3 separate regions of the Homo sapiens genome follow, and all the other regions are linked to region 2. Evidence: promoter capture Hi-C in human tissues and cell types (Jung and others, 2019). All regions are on one chromosome and are shown on one strand. Each heading gives the region's core, a stretch centred on a gene start or on the middle of the fragment in contact. The rest is flanking DNA. Distances are from core to core; before and after follow the strand shown.

The links. The method cuts DNA at HindIII sites, captures the fragments that hold promoters and counts their contacts. A contact is called where the count stands out against the background at its distance.
Region 1: a fragment that was not itself captured here is called in contact with the fragment with the promoter of C10orf126 in region 2 in 1 of the 25 tissues and cell types used here (aorta).
Region 3: a fragment that was not itself captured here is called in contact with the fragment with the promoter of C10orf126 in region 2 in 2 of the 25 tissues and cell types used here (aorta and mesenchymal stem cells).

The regions. Positions count from the first base shown.
Region 1 is chr10:28,708,476-28,711,919 of GRCh38, reverse strand. LOC105376470 (a long non-coding RNA gene) reads right to left here. Exons shown (of 4, transcript XR_001747282.1): 2 at 2,182-2,265; 3 at 1,365-1,619; 4 at 954-1,185. Among named protein-coding and RNA genes, the nearest start is that of BAMBI, 33 kb to the right of the region's middle. The HindIII fragment of the contact is 4,669 bases long and covers 1-3,444 here.
Region 2 is chr10:28,844,401-28,848,160 of GRCh38, reverse strand. C10orf126 (chromosome 10 open reading frame 126) reads right to left here and starts at 1,753. Exons shown (of 5, transcript NR_164114.1): 1 at 1,698-1,753; 2 at 898-1,042. The HindIII fragment of the contact is 9,674 bases long and covers 1-3,760 here.
Region 3 is chr10:28,974,511-28,978,364 of GRCh38, reverse strand. No RefSeq gene overlaps it. Among named protein-coding and RNA genes, the nearest start is that of C10orf126, 130 kb to the right of the region's middle. The HindIII fragment of the contact is 3,888 bases long and covers 1-3,223 here.

The DNA.
Region 1 (3,444 bases), core at 897-3,396, 140 kb after region 2:
CGCCATGGCATTCCAGCCTGGTGACAAAGCAAGACCCTGTCTGTGGGAAAAAAAAAAAAAAAAAACAAAACTGAAACCGAGTACCTGTAGGTAGCCTTTGAAAATCTTTATTTTAGACCCCCGAAAGGTCTGCTCCAGCAGAACTATTCTTTTTTTTTTTTTTTTTTTTGAGACGGTGTCTCGCCGCATCGCCCAGGCTGGAGTGCAGTGGCACAATCTCAGCTCACTGCAACCTCCGCTTCCTGGGTTCAAGCGATTCTCCTGCCTCAGCCTCCTGAGTAGCTGGGATTACAGGTGTGTGCCACCATGCCCAGCTAATTTTTGTATTTTTAGTAAAGACAGGATTTTACCATGTTGGCCAGACTGGTCTCGAACTCCTGACCTCAAGTAATGGGCCCACCTTGGCCTCCCAAAGTGCTGGGATTCTCAACCAAGCCCAGTTGAGAACTGCTCTTTTAACGGGGGTTGGAGGGTACTTCGTTTTTTGTACAGAAGCTTTATTAATGGCATTGAATGCCATATCAAGCATTAAAGCAAGCCTAGTGACAAGATGTTGCTGTCCTTCCCTTTCATTTCTGTCTCTATTCCCAAATGACAACAGCCATTTGAATCAGAGATACATGCATAGATTGGCCTTGACTTCTGCCATAAGGAATTACTCACAGGGTGTGTTGCAATTGTCTTCAAGGATGTCTTTCAATAAAAAGAGCATTTGACAATCTTGGCAAAGCCGGGCCTAAGCCCCCTGCTCTAAGCTGATGAACTTGGGACTCCCTCTGGGGACAGAGTCAAGTGTTCTGAAAGTCTCCTGCTCACAGAGATTTCACATTCTCAGTTTAGTCTTTCCTGCCAGATAAATGGCCCTAGACACCATGACCAAGTTCATTCACTTTGTCCATCCACCCACCATCCAGTGAACTCCTGGCCTCTAGGCATCTCTTACCAGTGCCAGGGCCTGGACACCACCTCTGTCCACTGCACCTTCCTTTGCCTTCTAGAAGCATTCCATCTAGATCTGCTTTTTCATTTTCATTCTGAACTTCCTGGATCTAAAATGATGTTTATTTCCCCATCAGAATTCCAGCTCCTAGCTAGTTTCCAAAGTCGACAATAGTGAACTTGTTCATCCCGAGATTGTTAGTGACTGATACAGATTTATGAGTGCATGTCCTGGGAAAACATGTCCTTGGAAGAGAGAAAAAAAAAGAAAATTAGAGAGAGAAAGGCCCAATCAAAGGAGAGGAGTGGCAATGTTGTAATCATGGGTACTGCAGGCTAGTAGAGGAAACATTTGCAAGCCTGCACATTTCCAGAACCTTTGAGTATAATTCAGAGCTGCAGCCTCGCCTGCATGTGAGGCTCACCCTGCTTTTGACATGACATGCTGCAAAGCTGTGCCCTTGGAGAACTCTAATGACCTTTCTCACTGCTGGAATCTGTATCCACAGTTTCCCTTGTCCACTATAGTGGCAAGGGCTTCTCTGTTCACTTTCCGAGTGACAGCTGGTGGAGGACAAGAAGCCAGGCTGGGAGGCAGAAGGCTGGAGCTGGCCCATTTCCACCCCAACTCATACAGCAACCTTGGGGAAGCACAGTGGCCTCGCCCTCAGCTTCTTCATCTGTAAAATGAAGAGATTACACTAAACCACTGCTTCCCAGGCTCTTGGATTTTGTACCAAAAATGCTTAAAACAAAGCTCTTTTCAAAAACGTTTTAGCTTTATCTTTCTTTTAAAAAATACTTTTAGACATATTGTCCAATAAAAAAAACATGGGTTGGGGGCAGTGGCTCACACCTATAAGCACTTTGGAAGGCCGAGGCAGGCAGATCACTTGAGGTTAGGAGTTCGAGACCAGCTTGGCCAACTTGGTGAACCCCATCTCTACTAAAAACACAAAAATTAGCCAGGCATGGTGGTAGGCACCTGTAATCCCAGCTACCCGGAAGGTTGAGGCAGGAGAACTGCTTGAACCCAGGAGGCGGAGGTTGCAGTGAGCCGAGATGGTGCCACTGCACTTCAGCCTGGGTCATAAGACAAGACTCCGTCTCAAAAAAATTAATTAATTAATTAATTAATGATAATAAAATAAGATATTTTATACCAACAAGGGAGAAAAACAAAACTTCAAAGTAAAGATCAGTCATTTAAATGAATAAATGTAGTTTCTTAAGAAAACTCACTATAATCTGAATTTTTCTCTTTGGTTGGGAGCCGTCAACATTCTGGCCTGGAATCATCCCTGAGGTCCCTTCTAGCATCATATCCTAGAGAAGGAAAAATTTAAAAGGGAAAAAAAAAAGCAAACCTTTAGGATAGAGTCAAAGCAGCTCCTTCAAAGCCAATAAGGATGCTTTAGAACTCGGGATAATTTCAGGCTCCACATTTAAGCAAAGGCTTTGCCATCCAGTAAGACTTTAAGAGGAAGGATTTAAAAATCCATCTGTTTGCCTCGGGGGACTCAGAGCAAAAGCAAAGTTTCAAGCTGATAGGCTCATGATAATATAACATATTCATTAGGTCATAAAGGGTGAAATACATGACGGCAGGTTTGGAGCCCCTCATTTACACAGCTTTTAGCAAACTCACTTTATATACCCCCAGCTGGAACTGCTTCTCCAAAGCCATTCCCCAGATTGCATAATTGTTCATTATGTCTTCAGGGAGGGTCCCATCTGCAGTCACGAATCCCCATGAAAATTTGTGGGAAAATATCCTTGCTCTTTCATTACATCTAAAATGTGATCACCCGATATTAAAACACAAAGCGCGGCTACATTTTAAAGGTAAACTGCAGAGCTAAATTGAGACTTGACTTAATCCCATTTTTATGGGCTGATTAATGTCCCGAGTAACCAGGCTGGGAGGAAAGTTAATGCCTCTTTCCTTTAATGGAATGCACCATGTTTCTTGCTTTTTATCAGGGGAGCACATTGCTACCACTGTGGCTTCATACAGAACAAGACTCAAAGCGACTGTCAGAACTTTCTCCTTGTGTCAAATGGACCTCAAATTATCCATGCACCAAAATTCTTAAAAGTCCAAGTTTCAATAAAGGAGGGAAAAAAGGAAAATAAATGGGAAGTTGAGATTTCTTCACAAGAAGATAATCGTGTCTGCTTGTGGCAGCTTGAGATGAGATGATGTGTAAACTCTGCCTCAGTGGTAACAGTAATAGCCACTTGTTGAGTAGCTACTCTGTGCAAAGAATTGTGCCAGGCACTTTGCGTATGTCTTCTTCTTCTTTTTTTTTTTTTTTTTTGACAGAGTTTTGCTCTCATCGCCCAGGCTGGAGTGCAGTGGCTCCATCTCGGCTCACTGCAACCTCCGCCTCCTGGGTTCAAGCAATTCTCCTGCCTCAGCCTCCTGAGTAGCTGGGACTACAGGCGTGTGCCACCTCGCCCGGCTAATTTTTTATATTTTTAGTAGAGATGGGGTTTCACCAT
Region 2 (3,760 bases), core at 504-3,003:
TCCCGTGCACAAGAGCTCCATGTTTTCCCAACCAGTGCTCTGATCTTTGTGTAATGATAATCATCTTTGAAGCTAGGCAAGCCTATTAAATCCATAGTTTGGTCTTCTGCTTTTTCTACACTGAATGGAGTGAATATGGGCCCCATTCCTGGAGGCCCTCAGGCCTTCACAAGTGGCTTTCAATTGCTCCCTAACTGCCTACAGCTTTTCATTATCCTAATGTAGAGCCTCAATTCAATTGAGCAACAAGCAGCCAATTCCATTGTCCTTGGATACCTTGCTTCTCTCTGACCTCTCAAATGCCTGAATCCTCTCTCCATCCGGGGCTTTCCCGTCCACCAGAACATTCTTCCAAGTCACTGACATTGAACGTTTTAGGCAGGGCTCAGTGGCCCGTGCCTGTAATCCCAACACTTTGGGAGGACAAGGCAAGAGGATCACTAAAGGCCAGGAGTTCAAGACCAGCCTGAGCCTTGCTCTGTTGCCCAGGCTGGAGTGCAGTGGCATGATCATAGCTCACTGCAGCCTCGAGCTCCTGCGCTCAAGCAATCCTCCCGCCTCAACCTCCTGAGTAGTTGGGACTCCAGGCATGAGCCACCATGCCTGGCCGCAACATTCAGATGGATTTTTAAACTACCTGAGCTAAGTTAATTTCCTCATAGATTGGATGTGGATGTGAGAGCAAAAGAAGAGTCAAGGATGACCCAAGGGTTTGCTTTGAGCACATTCCTCAGTGCTTCCAGGGCATATGGCCTCTGAATGGTGCCCATGGGCTTATAAATCCATCTCCTCCCAAGAGATAACACATTTATTTTGTCCCTGGACCTTATGAAAGTTGTCAGAATCAAAATAGAATCACTAGTGTTTTTTAAGGAAAACAACAAACAAACAAAAAACCTGAACTGGATGCAGTGGTTCATGGCTGTAGTCGCAACTCAGGAAGCTGAGGCAGGAGGACTATTTGAGCTCAGGAGGTTGAGGCTGCAGTGAGCTATGATCACACCATTGCACTCCAGCCTGGGCGACAGAAAGAGGCCCATCTCTAAAAAACAAACATAAAAAGACTTCACTCTCATCACTCTTGAGATTAAGGATTTACCTAAGTAGTAAAATATGTCAGATCAGATTCTGGCCTCAGGAACTCTGAATCTGGGATGTGAAAAGGTTTCTGGAGAGGCATTCTGTTTCTCATATCATTAACCACAGGAAGATATTATTTGGTATACAAGAGGACATTGCTTAAAGAGGTGAGAAACAGAAACTATCTCTCCCTTATATTTCTCCAAATACCTTGTAAAGTTGTGAGTTAAAGAAAAAAGAATGATGTTCACTCAAAGGGGAGATGCAAAAATAAAAAGGTAAAACCTTTTCCCTTACCCTAAGGAGATAATGTGTGCATTTTAAAAAAGTTCTAATATTGTTTCTGCAAGTCAATATATAAGCATTATTGAAAAGTCCAATCTTGCCTGTGTTTTACAGCTCTCAGCTCCTTTCAGGAAGCAACTAAATCAGAAAACAGTGTTCTCTCTTCCTTGGAGCTGGCACAGGTTTTGATAACATCGATTGAATGCCAAGCGTAAGTACAGATTGGAAGTTAGAAGTATTGCTATTGACCGTTTTCTAATATGTCCTTCAGCTCAGTAATTAATCGATTTGTGACAAAATGAATAAGAAGCTGAGGTCTTCTAAGAGCTTACCATGTGGCAGACGCGAGCTCAGTGCTGTACATTCGCATTCATGCTCTTCATCCCTGTCTCTCAAGCCACTCGTCACACCCACACTCTCCGGGCCAGGAGGCTTGCACAACCTGCACTGGGAAACTTTCTCCCACCTGTTCTTGACTCCTGAAACCCCTCCACGGTGCCATCAGCCTGATCCACTAATAGCAAAACGCCTCACATCCCAAACTAACTTCCAAATAGTCCCTCCTTGTTCTGACAAAAACTGACTCTTCCCTGAGGACGATGCTCACATCTTCTCTCATGCGCTGGCTGTTTTTCTTTTTCTTTTTTTGAGATGGAGTCTCCCTCTGTAGCCAGGCTGGAGTGCAGTGGTGCGGTCTCAGCTCACTGCAACCTCCACCTCCCGGGTTCAAGTGGTTCTCCTACCTCAGCCTCCCAAGTAGCTGGGATTACAGGCACACACCACCACACCCAGCTAATTTTTGTATTTTTAGTGGAGACGGGGTTTCACCATGTTGACCAGGATGGTCTCAATCTCTTGACCTCGTGATCTGCCCGTCTCAGCCCCCCAAAGTGCTGGGATTACAGGCGTGAGCCACTGCGCCCAGCCACTGGCTGTTTTTCATTCCAGGCCCTCCTGCCACCTCCTGCAGACCTGGAGGTGATGGAGGGACCCTGCTGGTCCTCTTTTCCCCTTCCAGAACCTTCTCCTTCCCTTCTACTGCAAATCTCGTACCATCATCATCTATCACCCCTGAAACTGTCCCTAGAAACTTTATACAATTAATCAGAAGAGAAGGGAGGGAGAGAAACAAAAATAAGCCAAGCTTGCACATACTCAGTGTTAGTCATGGGGTCAGCTGTTCTCTGATCCTTCCTCATAGTGTTTTGCTACCTATTGCTCCAGAATCACACAGACCCTGTCACAAGATTAGAGTCCCCCTTCACTGCTCCACAGATAACAACTGAACATTGTGAAATGTTGCTTTCCATTTGAGATATTCTTGTAGGTCATGCATACTGATGAAACTACTGACGCCAGCTGGTCTGAAGGACCCCACGAGAAGCTGACTCACTGAAGAATGCAGTTTCTACATCCTGATGATTTCATCCCCCTTTCCCCAACCAATCAATGACTATAGTTTTTCAGCCCCTCACCCCCCATAATCCCCTTGAAAACCTCAGCCTAGAACTCTTCGGGGAGATGGATTTGAGGGTCTTCTCCCATCTGCTCACTCGGCCTCCCTGCTGTCATCAAACCCTCTCTCTGCTGCAAAGCCTGCTGTCTTGGTGTATTGGTCTGTTTCTGCACAACAGGCATACAAACATGTTGGTCCTGTAATACCCCTGCCCAACATTGTTCACCACCTTTTTCAACAACATCAGTTCTCAGCCCATTGGCATCCTCCCCAATACTTCTCCTCTCTTTTCTGAGCATGTTCAATGCATAGATAATAATCTTTCCAAAACTCCACCATCATAGGTCATTAAACTTCTCTCCTCCTTCAGGCATCTTGACCTCTACCCTCCTAGAAACAGTCACTCACTTTGATGGCAATACATGGATCTTGTCATGCACATTCATTGCAGTCCTTAGCCCCTTTTAACTTCTAATTACTCTGGGGCTCAGTCGTTGCTGTTGTTTTCATCTCTGTCTCTACTTACTCCGTTGGAGATCTCATGTGGTTCCATGGCTTTAAATACTACCCACACACTGATAACTCCCAAATGAATATCTCCAGTCCAGTCCTCTGTCCTGAACTCCAAACCTGCATATCCAATAGCGTACTCATCATTTTCACTTGAATATCTAAAATACTTCTCTAACTCACACGTCCACTACTAAACTGATTTTCCCTACCTATCCCACTGTACCCACAACCTTCCCCATGTTAGTTAGTTGATGACAATTTCGTCCTTGTGGCCTAAAACAGAACACTTCTTGGATTCATCCTTGACTCCTCTCTTTCTCCCCTATCCTACATCCAATTCATCAAGAATATCCCTTGTCTCTTTCTTCAAAACACATCCAGATTCTGACAACTTCTCACTGCCTTTGCTGCTCTTATTCTGATCCC
Region 3 (3,854 bases), core at 30-2,529, 130 kb before region 2:
GAGAAAAAATTAGATTGCCCACAAAAGAAATATCACTAATAGACTTTTCATGAACAATAAAACAAAACCAAACCAAAAAAATGCCAGAAGAAAGCTAAGTACTATCTTAAAAACAGTTGAGGCAAAATAGCTATTAACTTGGAGTTCTGTTCCCGGACCATCTTTTAAGAATGAGAGCAAAATGGAAACATTTTCAGAGACATCAGGACCTAGGAAATATACTCTCTCAGATGTTTGCTGGAAGGACAGCTAAAGAATATACCTCCACAAGAAGACTGAATCCACAATAAAGAAATGTTTCTTTTTAAACATTTTTTTATTTAACTTTTATTTTAAGTTCAGGCGTACATGTGCAGGTCTGTTATATAGGTAAGCTTGTGTCACGGGGGTTTGTCGTACAGATTATTTCATCACCCAGGTATTAAGCCTTGTACTCATTAGTTATTATTTTTCCCCATCCTCTCCCTCCTACACTTCACCCTCTGAAAAAACCCCAGTGTGTGTTGTTTCCCTCTTTGTGTCCATGTGTTCTCATCATTTTGCTTGCATTTGTAAGTGAGAACATGCAGTATTTAGTTTTCTATTCCTCTGTTAGTTTGCTAAGGATAATGCCTCCAGCTCCACCCATGTTCCTGCAAAGGGCATAATCTTGTCATTTTTCCTGGCTGCGTAGTATTCCATGTTGTATATGTACAACATTTTCTTTATCCAGTCTACCACTGATGGGCATTTAGGTCGATTCCATGTCTTTGCTGTTGTAAATAGTGCTGCAATGAACATATGTGTGCATGTGTCTTTATGATAGAACAATTTCTACTCCTTTTGGTATATACCCAGTAATGGGATTGCTGGGTCGAGTGGTGTTTCTGTTTTAGGTCCTTGAGGAACAGAGGGCATAAGTTTCAAGGATCAAGACACAAATGCGGCAGAAACAGGATTCTAGTATTTCTTCCAACAGAGTTGTGAGTCGGGAAGTATTCCAAGATAACCCCAAATGTCCTTGCAATCCTATCATAATTAATAAATCCTAAAGCAGTAACAGAAAGAGGAAGACAAAAAAGAAAAGAAGAAAAGAAAGAGAAAAAATGTTGTGATTAAAATAAGCTTGAACTGAGACGTAGGTGTTAACATGGTGTTCAGATAAGGAGAGTGTTTGAAAATAGCACAGAATGTAACTATATTGCCATGTTACAGAGAATATAGACATTGGTGAATTTTAAGTTTTGAAAAAATATATAAGTATACACATTAAAACTTTATTAACACTAATAGACTAGAAATGCAATAAATAAATTTCATATCAGTAGAAAGAAATAAAAGAAATGAACGGACCGCATAGCTATACACCATCCTATGATGATAGTGGCCCTTGGGGTGCGGACTGGGAACACTAGGGTTGGAGGCTAAAGAGGATTTTAGTTTTAACTCTAATGCTTTATTGCCTTAAAAAAATACTTCAAGCACATATGACAAAATTTGAAAAGTTAATATTTCTAGGTGTTAACATTTCTAGGAATATAGGTTTTTGTTACATCATCCTTTATACTTTCTCAAATTAAAATACCACAAGCAAATAGGACAAAATTTGAAAAGTTAATATTTCTAGGTGTTACCATTTCTAGGAATATGGGTTTTTGTTACATTATCCTTTATACTTTCCCATATTTTTATTTTATTTCCCATTACCCTTTATACTTTCCCATATTTATTCAAAACAAAAAAATGGAAAGCTTCTGTGCTTATTCTGAGCTGTTATCCAAGTGTGGGTAGAACATGAATGAACTCCAAAGCAGTCCAGGTTCAAGTCCATGAAGTCTAGCAGATGAGCTCAGCTCCCGTCCGGAGCAGACACAGGGCTGTAATGCATCCCCCATCTGTTGTGTACAGGTGAGAAAAATTCTTAATGGAAGAGAACTCCAGTGAACTTAAAGGGTCATTGCCTTTTAAACACTAGTAGTTTATAAAAGCCCCATTATCTTATGCTCTCTGTTGGTTTGAATTACTCGTTCCTGGCTTCAGTGTGCAAGCAGTGGAACAAAGATATCAATATAGAAACTGCCATAGCCGGGGGTCAGCAGGGGGTTACCCAATTAGAGAACCCTTAAGAAACCACAGAAAAGAAAATAACTTCTCTGTCATAATAAGGACCCTCTCCACGGGAGATGGAACAATCACTCTGTGTGTTAGTTTTCTCTTGCAGTGGGTGAATCATGGAGCACAATGAGAAACAGTAGATTGTCTTCTGTGAATGATGGACCCTGGCGGCGGGTTGCCCATGGGATTAGTTGTTCCCTGGTACAGCTGTTAGCACTCCACCCACGCATAAGGGAAAAGGAGTTAGAAAAGACAACACAAAGGGCAAATCAGTGAATGGGCTGTGTTTGCATTTCTCTCAACGGACATTTACATGAGAAGCATTCTCAAATGAGCTGCATGCTCTTGGAATATAGCAAGATCACGCTTATTGGCTTAAGGAAGTCCTGTAAATATCCTCCTCATTCTTCAATGGTGGATCTTAGTCTCACTGGTCAGAAGGCTTCCTCTTTATTGCAGAGTCAGGAATGGCTCAGGGCAGGCACTAGATATGGATATTGATGCTACAGTCTCTACCAAAGATGGCAAAAGCCCAACTCAGGCAGTGGCAGTGGGGATAGAGAATAGGCTATAGATCTCAGAGAAGTTTTAGGGGTAGAATCATAGGAATTCGTGGCTGGTTACCTGCGCAGGAGTTGTGAGTCGGGAAGTATTCCAAGATAACCCCAAACTTTCTTGCAATCCTATCAATTGACTTAGGAAATAAGAAATAGAAGTGCTAAAGGAGAGATGGGGGTGGCAGGCAGGACAATTAGATGAAGTCTTGGAGACGTTGAGGAACATATGGACCTTTGTGGGGTAGATCCGGTAAGGAACTGGAAATGTGCAACCGGAGGTTACGTAGAGATCAGGAGATGGCAATTTAGAAATCACAGGTGCAGTGCTGGCAGCTGATTCGCAGGTGTGGGCGGGACTGGCAAAGGTAGCATATGATGTGAGAGTCCTCCAGTCAAAGACTTCTCACAGCCATGGGGGTTTCACGGAGTAGCTTCCTGAAAGGGACTGTGAGAATGGTAAGCAGGTGAGACCCCAGCCCCCATTTAAGTATAGATCAGCACTTTCTCATTTCCAAAGTAAGATCTCTACAATAGGTTTCAAATGAAGAGAGGATCCTATGGCTCAAAAATTTTTCTGAAAACCCTTGCTCTTGTTCACAGATTGGCTGAGGCTCATTAAACTTCTCCAGTGAGGAAAGGAAACACTTATACACTGCTGGTGGGAATGTGAATTAGTTCAGCGACTGTGGAAAGCAGTCAGGAGATTTTTCAAAGAACGTAAAATAGAGCTACCATTTGACCCAACAATCCCATTGCCAGGTATATACTCAAAGGAATATAAATCACTCTACCATAAAGACACAGGCACACATATGATCACTGCGGCTCTATTCACAACAGCAAAGACACAGAATCAACCTAGGTGCCCATTAATGGTGGATTGGATAAAGAAAATGTGGTACAGGCCGGGCTTGGTGGCTCACACCTGTAATCTCAGTACTTTGGGAGGCCAAGGTGGGCAGATCACAAGGTCAGGAGATCCAGACCATCCTGGCTAACATAGTGAAACCCCGTCTCTACTAAAAATACAAAAAGAAATTAGCCAGGCGTGGTGGCGGGTGCCTGTAGTCCCAGCTACTCGGGAGGCTGAGGCAGGAGAATGGTGTGAACCCGGGAGGCGGAGCTTGCAGTGAGCCGAGATCACGCCACTGTACTCCAGCCTGGGCAACAGAGTGAGACTGCATCTAAAAAAAACAGAAAACG